2 separate regions of the Homo sapiens genome follow, and region 1 is linked to region 2. The links are contacts of gene promoters, found by promoter capture Hi-C in blood cells and fetal thymus (Javierre and others, 2016). All regions are on one chromosome and are shown on one strand. Each heading gives the region's core, a stretch centred on a gene start or on the middle of the fragment in contact. The rest is flanking DNA. Distances are from core to core; before and after follow the strand shown. Region 1 has its middle 6.9 kb from the start of TRIM36. Region 2 holds the start of YTHDC2 (YTH N6-methyladenosine RNA binding protein C2).

Region 1 (4,189 bases), core at 278-2,777, 1.7 Mb after region 2:
ATTCTGAATTCTTTTAGCACTCAGTTTAACACAAATACCTAGTCTTTGTACACTGATGTTTGATGTTTTGTCTTCTCGACCATTTAAGCTTTTATTTAAGACAAAATCTAGTAAGCATTTATCTACTAAACAGTAGCACCAGAGCAACAATTTGCTATTAGGAAGATGAGAGGAACCCAGTGCTGCTCTCACGGACATTTTTCCATTAATGATGAGTGTATTAGCTGCATAACTAGTGGGCAAAGAAGTTTTCTGGCCAACTTGAGGTAAACAAAACTGGTAATATTTTGAGGCAATCTAGCAGGTCCCTCTCTGTTGACCACATCTTATTATTCTTCCCTGTAGGGTTACTAGATTTAGTAAATAAGAACACAATACACCCAGTTAAATTGGAATTTCAGATACATGATAATTTTTTAGTATATGTTCCAAATATCACATTGCACATATTCTAAAAAAAAAAAAAGTATTTATCTCAAATTCAAATTCAAGTCTACATCCTGTATTTTATCTGTCAGCCCTACCTCCACTTCTTAATGATCACAATGTGGATATAAGGTGTCTCAAGGCCCAACCCTGTTGTCATAAAAGCTAGAAGTAATAGCTTTCATTTATTGAGGGCCTATGATGTGTCGATAACAGTATTAGGAAACCTGCATAAAAGATTCATTTAACCCTTGCAGTAACCCTGTGAAATAGGTATAATTCTTTTCAGAGAAGACATGTAACAACTAAAATTCCTCTCCACCTCCGCCCATAGATTAAGTAATATGCTTAATCTATGGGCTATATACTACATGGCCATATACTAAAAAGCCAGGATTCAAACCTGGGTCTCAGTCCAGCATCCTTATTGCACTGCCCACAGGTGAGTATACAACACAGAATTTACAATTTCACTAAAAATCTGATTTAAACATCCTTTTACAAAGTAGTTTAGGAGACACCTTTTTTTTTCAAATTATCTTTAGCGCAATATAGTAAAAAAAAATAAGAGGAAAATTATATTTATGAAAGTAGCTCTTTTCAAATGATATTACAAAAATCTAAATCTTCTGCCTGCCTTCCCTACTCCCCACAGCACATACATTTCACCCAATTTCAATACATATATTTAAAAAACCTTTAAAAAATACTTTGTAGGCCGGATGCGGTGGCTCACCCCTGTAATCCCAGCACTTTGGGAGGCTAAGGCAGGTAGATCACTTGAGGTCAGGAGTTCGAGACCAGCCTGGCCAACATGGCGAAACCCTGTCTCTACTAATAATACAAAAAATTAGCCGGGCATGGTGGCGTGTGCCTGTAGTCCCAGCTACTAGGGAGGCTGAGGTAGGAGAATCGCTTGAACCCAGAAGTGAAGGTTGCAGTGAGCCTGAGATTGCACCACTGCACGCCAGCCTGGGCAACAGAGTAAAACTGTGTCTCAAAAAAAAATAAAAATAAAAATAAAAATACTTATGCAGTGGGCACAACCTTACCATTATCACCCCAGTTTAGATTTTAGTTGTGTGAGCAACTATCTATTCGTCCTTCTGAAAGAGATCATTTGGTGGTATTTTTGTTTTGGTCCCAGGAGATGTTTAAGACCTTTTATTAGTCTAGATTTGAGGACTTTCCAAGACTAATTCTTTCAGAGTGTAAGTGTCTTCTTTTTTTAAGGTAAAGTTTGTGTTTGTAAAAATTCTTGAATTTTTTGTGCCTCAAAGATGTTCAAAGTTAAAATAATTCACCAAGTAATGGTATCATTGCCTATTTCAGTATCAAAATTAAATATAAGATTTACAAAGCCTCTCTTATTTTGCTGAAACCATTATGCTCTTAGATGTGCCTGAACAGTAAATATTAAATTATGGGAACCGAATGTACCTTCTGGCTATTTACACATAAATGTAAATATGCTAAATACACAAAATACAAAGAGATATACTAAAATTTGAATTCTATATTCCTTGTCATCAAATCTTCATTATATGATTCCAGAAGCGGTGATAAAAAAATTAGTGAGGCAAATCTTACAAGAGACCAAAACAGTTGGAAAATACTGCTTTGAGTAACCTTAGATATTGACCACAGATTTGGAAACCTCTCTTTTAATCCAAAGAGATTAGCTGCAAAAGAAGCGAAAAGACAGCTTTCAGAAATGGTAAAAGTTTCACTGCTAGTGAAATGTAAGGAAATACATTTTCATTTTTAAGCCTCTTGAGAATGATCGTAAGTATTAACTACACTTATGCAGTATTGTTTGATGAGCAGAAAGGTCACAATGGCAGATATCACTGTGTACTTTAAATATTAAAGTAGCCATCACAATAGAGTAAATAAGCTGATCCAGTTTGTCCTGTAGGTTTTAGGTTACCCTAAGAAAAAAGGCTTACTTCCCACATTTCAGAGAACATACGGTATGCTAATTTAATTTGAAATAGACACACAAACTGCTGCCACTGGGGAAGGAATGAGATTGGAGGTGGGCATGAACTTAGACTTTTTACTCTGTGAACCTTTCTGTGAAGTTTGAATACTTTACAACAAGCATATATTCCAGGTATTAAGTTTGTAAAAATGTAAAGCTATGTATTTTTAATTATGTACAGAGCTTGAGAAGTCCAGTACAAGGATGAAACAAATCTGGGGGAAAAGTGAGAGAAATTAAGAGGATGGTTAACTCAGTGGTCTCAACTTTGAGGGATGGTGGGGCGGAGGGCAGGCCAACTACAGGCCTCTACTCTCTTAACTCTCATAATTAGACCAGTTTCCCATTATTCTTTACATTACAAACCCGAACTACAAAGTGGAACCGAACCCCACAGAGGAAAATAAAGCAAGTCAGTCTCAAAGGTCTGCTATTCCATGGTTAATATTCAGTGTTCAAATCCTGTATAATCACACACAAAACAGGGGTCTTAAATGGGCTAGTGCTGGGGCTGCGGGGCGGGGCAGGATTTGAGCCTGAGGAGAGTGGTAGGAAATAAGCTTACGTTGAAATGGTTAGGAGCCTACTCCAGACCAACTCTCCCCCTCCAACCCCCACAAAACAGAGAGAGGAATTGTCCTAAGTTCTTCTTGGGAGAGACTGCTTTCCAACCTCAGAGATTTCAAAGGGACAGCGGGCCTCTCCACCTTTAGAAGTCAACCGGGAATGCTCATGGGTTTGCTGCAGGCCCATTGCTGAAGCCTAGTGAAGAGAGAGACAGAGAGAGAGAGAGCAGAGAAATCCAGTAAATGAAGCCAGAAAGTTAGTTTGTGTTTTTTCATTATAGTGAGCATACTGTGATGAACCCATTGGTATTCTGAGAGGGTTTTGTTTTTGTTTACCTGACTTGATTATAAGGAGTTTTAATGGTTCTGCCCTACTTCCCCATTTCGTGTTCATAGGACATCCATCAGTCGGCTTCATGGTCACCTGGGCTGTTCTTCACATGCAAATCCCTGGGTCCTACCCCGAAATTATTCTCTCAGAATTTCAGGATTTGTCTGCTATTGAAGGAAAGCATAGCCAACTAATACAATTCTGGCTTACTTTGAAGAATATCTGAGCGCCATAGGACAAAATTCACCTATCGATCATCCTATTCTCCATCCTATCAAGAGTAGTCCATTTATTTTGTTCAACCAAAGGCATTCTTTTTCCTCCCTGCCCCCTAGCCCCTCAACGTTCCCAAATAGATGCCCCTGTTAGGCATTCCCCTAGACCTGGGCAGTCGGTGTCCTGCCTGCACCTCTCGCTCTTTAGAGGCCGTGGTTCTGGCCCTCCTCTGGTTGCCTGCCTCTTTGCTCAGAGCCAGCCCTTTCTCTTATCAGGACTTCTCTTCCCAGGGTCCATTCTTCAGAGGGAAGGGTGGGCCGCAATATGCACCCTAGGCCCGAAGGGTGGTCAAGGGGCTGCTGCTGGGGCGACAAAGAGCTCGGATATACTGGACAGTGTGTGCTGAAGGCCCCTTGAGGTGCAGGATGGAGTCTGGGCTTGGAAGAAAAGTGGAAGGAGAGTTCTCCAATTGTACTTCTGGCCCGGGGTTGTAAATGGTAGGGGAGGCCCAAGACACAGCTTCACTTTCGAAATGTTAATGAATATTCTGTTTCTGATGAATGTATTCAGTGCCTGTAGAACAAGAGAATTCAGAGAGGCGTAGGGTTCATTTGGGACTTTTTAGGCTAAGAGTGCATTAAACCAGCTCCCCAGCCCTGGGGCCAT
Region 2 (4,270 bases), core at 736-3,235:
GAAACCAACTTAAGACAATATTTCCCCAAATAATAACCCCTAAATGACCTGGCTGAACAAGAGAGAAAGGGATGGAGGGCTGGCAAAGTAGGGGTGATGAGGGGGCAAAGGGTGGGAGGAAATATCCCTAGCATCAATAATAAAATCATGTTGGTTATATTTTAAGACTTTATTACTCTACCAGGTCAATTTTATAGATGAGAAGAGAGCAGTCTCCAGACCACTGTGCTGTGGCATGCTCGTATGCCACAAGTTGTTTACAGGCATATCAAGATGTTGATGACCCCAGTTCTTAGGCAACTGGGTACAAACTGGAACGGGTGAAGCTAGTTCTTTCAGCCTAGTCACTTATGCCCAAGATCAGCCTTATCATTGTACAAATATATTAGTCAGAATAAGCTAACTCTTTGTATCAGTTATCTACTGCTGTGTAAGAAACCCAACCTAAAACTTAGTGGCTTACAGCAATATTCATTTTATTTGTTTATGTGTTCTGTGGGTCAACAGTTTGGACTATGTTTAGCTAGGTGGTTTTGCTAATCTTGCTTTGGGTTGCTTACAGAGTTGTGGTCATCCAGCAGCTTTTCTAAGACTAGACTTTCCATTATGGCCTTTTTCACGTCTTGCCCTTGGTGCTGGTGGATGATTGGGCCATAGTTGTCAGTGGGCTAGCCTAAGCTTCTTTACTTTGTGGAAGAAGAATTCTCAGCAGCAAAACAGGCTAAGCCTTAATGCACAAACACCTTTCAAGCCCCTGCTTATCTCGTATTTGCTGATGTCCCAATGGCCAAAGCAAGTTACATAGCCAAAGACAGAGTCCATGTGGGAAGGAAGAATACAAGGGTGTGAACAGAGGAATGTGTGATTCATCAAAGGCCATACCTTTGATGAATTCAACAATTTACCATAATGTTACAAAAAAAAATCTTCCCAAATCTCAGCAGTTTACCACAACTAAGAATTATTTCTTACCCATGTCATATTCCAATGTGGGTTGGTGAGGACACTCTATCACACTCGTTCAGGGAATCGGGAACCTGTTATCTATCTAGTGGTTCCACCGTTGTCTAAGAACTTCCAGAAGACCAGGAAAGACAGAGAAGGGAAGATTCAAGGAAGGTGTTATAGACCAATCCTGGAAGTGGTATACATCAGTTCCAGCAACATTCCAATGGCCGGAACTCAGCCATGTGGCCCCCAGCTAACTGCAGGAGAGTTGGGAAATATAATGCCTAGGAAGAAAAGATACTTCTTGTCACCAAATATTCCGCCCCCTTCTTACCACACACAGAATACACATATACCCTCCCCAGACACCTGGAATTCTATCTAGTCACTGCATCCAGGATCTGTTGTTGATACACAGTCCTCTTTATTAGATCCAGATGTATATCCTCATTGCCAGGTAACTCATGAACTATGTAAATATGTACTACATACCTGCCCCCACTCAGCTACCCTGTGTAGCGTGATAGAGCAAGGGTGGCATACTTGCATTAAAATCTCCCATTCAGAAAAGGGAAGAATGCAAGACACACAACAGTGGCTCATTCTTTAGTATATGTATTTTTTATGATATTTTTCCAAATATTGCATGGGAAATATATACACTAAAAATTATTCGTTTATCTGAAATGCAAATTATTAAGCATTCTGTATTTTTATTTGCTAAATCTGGCAACCCTCCTCCCACTAAAATATAAACTCCATGAAGGTAGGAACCTTGGCTCTCTGGTTCTCCAATGTACATCGAAGGCGTGGCATAATGCCAGGTCCACAGTAGAAGCCCATACATGCTTACTGCAGGAATTAATGAAGGACTAAACGAAGTAGCAAGTGAGTGAATAAGAAGATGAGGAGCGACCCTTGGTGGGCGGCGCGGGAAGAGAACCGCACCATAGCTCCGCAGACAGCCTCCTTTAGGCGCGCAGCGGCGGCCGCGCTGAGGTCACGGGCGCCGGCCCTGGTGACGTCATTACGCCCGCGCTCCTCGCCTGGCCGTGATATCAATGGCGCAGGCTTCACTTCTGCTGTGGCGGTGACTGAGGCCTTTCTGGTGACCTCAGCCCAACACAGGCCGTCTCCGGAGCTTCCCGGTAGTGGCCCCGGATTCCCACGGTCTTTGTCATTGGCTGTCAGCTAGCAGGCCTGGCCGCTCCCGTGCGGAGAGACCATCTCTTCAGGGCAATGTCCAGGCCGAGCAGCGTCTCCCCGCGGCAGCCGGCTCCTGGCGGTGGCGGAGGCGGCGGCCCCTCGCCTTGTGGCCCTGGGGGCGGCGGCCGGGCCAAGGGGCTGAAGGACATTCGCATTGATGAGGAGGTGAAGATCGCAGTCAATATCGCGCTGGAGCGCTTCCGATACGGGGACCAGAGAGGTGAGGTTCCGGACAGGGACCATGCTGGCAGTCAGGATACCCCCCTCACCCCAGCGCCCCCCAAACGGCGGCCCACCGAGTGATGGGGGTGCCTCCGAAGAGGGAGGGAAGACCCGGGCCACCGTCCGGGGCGGGCCTCAGCGGCGGCACCCGGGTCTGGAACGCGGCTGTTGGCCCTGCGGTGGAATGCGAGGTGCTCTGCGGATCAATGGGGTTATGGGCACTTTGCTCCCTAGCTGAAAGTGTTTTTCCCCCGCGTCTTTCAGCAGCCTTGGGCGGTTAAGCCACCGTGTTTCAGATATTGGTTAGCCCTAACCCTTTTTAAGGGGGTGTCACCTAATTGTGGCACGTTTAAGCTACAGATGTAGAAGAGCAGAAAGAAATCAAACATATAAATAAATGCACCAGCAATACGTTTGGACCCTGAAGCATCACGCTACCCACTTAAATTAAACTTGTTTGGCACACGAAGCATCTTCCACACCTCTTGAGGTTAGATAGCCACTTGTCTTGGGTCATATAATGCAGAACCAGCAACTGACCTGCGGTGACCTGTGCAGTCTGTTGAGGGCTCATTCGGACCTGCTGGCTTAGTTAGGGGACCTCTTACTCTGGAATCTTATAGTCCAAAACGGGGAATGTTCTAGACAGAGAGATTCTAAATTCACATTAAAAAAAGAGAAAGCCTCAGCAATATATAACAAATCCCTCTGAAATAGTGAAATACGAATTCTGTACAGTTTTGAAAGCAAAGACAATGGAGTTTCATGTTGAGAATTCATAATATTTGAACATATCTCATCATTGAAGAAAATAAACATTTTGTTAACTAAACAAGTAGGGACCAAGTTAAATATGTTCAGTCATTATACCAACTCAAAATTCCAGAACAAGTAAGAGGAGTCGTTTTTGGTGAATATCAGAGGCCTTTATCACATTTAGGTTTAATACATAGCTGTCTTTTTATTAATATCAGAATTCTGATAGACATTCAGTAGTTATTGAATTAATAAAATATCTTAATTTTATTAATTTACATAAATAGAATATGAAATATAAAGTTAACCTCAAATAAAGTATAATAAATTTGATTGTCTATGTATGTTTTTCATATTTTGTATCTGTGTGTTTTACTTGAGAGAAAATTGCCTATCTACAAATTTTACTACTTTGTTTTTTTTCCGTGTAGAAATGGAATTTCCTTCTTCTTTGACCAGTACTGAAAGAGCCTTTATTCATCGACTCAGTCAGTCTCTTGGTTTGGTCTCTAAAAGTAAAGGGTAAGCTGGTAGCTTTTCTTATTTTTTTTAAAAAAGATTATTTGCCCAAAAAAGGGAGAAACGTTTCTGAGTACATTTAAGTACTTATTACTGTTTTAACTTCACATTCTTAATTGTATCATATGTAGATAAAAGATTCAGGTCTGTACCAAATTCAACTCTTTCCTCTTCCCTCTGTCTACCTCTTCCCCCCTTTTTTGTTTTGTTTTGTTTTTCCCTAGGAAAATGCTTTTTCTTCTACCCAGCTTAGGTTCCTTGGCTGGGACCCTGCAAATTAGACTGATAAAAGACATATTAACAAGAGAAAAACATAAGCTTATTAAGACATGCATCATGCATACATAGGGGAGAACTCGATAGTAACTCAAACATGGGGCTTATGTGGCATCTTAATAAAGAACAATGAATTTATTTAAAAAATGACAAGACAAAGGAAAAGGACTTTGAACTTGTAGGTGCAGTAAATTGTGGGAAGGTATATGTGGGGAAACTAATGGAAGATATGTGTTCTTTTAGCAAGGTTGGTTATGTAGGTTCCCCTGGTGCTGTCTCTATTAAGAGTCTAGAGTGGTTTCTCTTGTTAAGAATAGTCCTTCCCTTTCTGGTAAAGCAGGGG

What was found. Contacts are between HindIII fragments. The CHiCAGO score rates a contact against its expected background, and 5 or more counts as called.
Region 1: a fragment that was not itself captured here is called in contact with the fragment with the promoter of YTHDC2 in region 2 in 1 of 17 cell types (fetal thymus); the score reaches 5.4 in fetal thymus.

What each region holds. Positions count from the first base shown.
Region 1 is chr5:115,174,701-115,178,889 of GRCh38, forward strand. It overlaps a transcript of TRIM36 not described here. Among named protein-coding and RNA genes, the nearest start is that of TRIM36, 6.9 kb to the left of the region's middle. The HindIII fragment of the contact is 2,882 bases long and covers 87-2,968 here.
Region 2 is chr5:113,511,709-113,515,978 of GRCh38, forward strand. YTHDC2 (YTH N6-methyladenosine RNA binding protein C2) reads left to right here and starts at 1,986. Exons shown (of 30, transcript NM_022828.5): 1 at 1,986-2,374; 2 at 3,564-3,654. The coding sequence starts at 2,188. LOC124901046 (a long non-coding RNA gene) reads right to left here and starts at 1,950. Exons shown (of 2, transcript XR_007058905.1): 1 at 1,723-1,950; 2 at 151-1,232. RefSeq lists enhancers at 1,742-1,791, 1,788-2,289 and a silencer at 2,242-2,471. The HindIII fragment of the contact is 3,291 bases long and covers 677-3,967 here.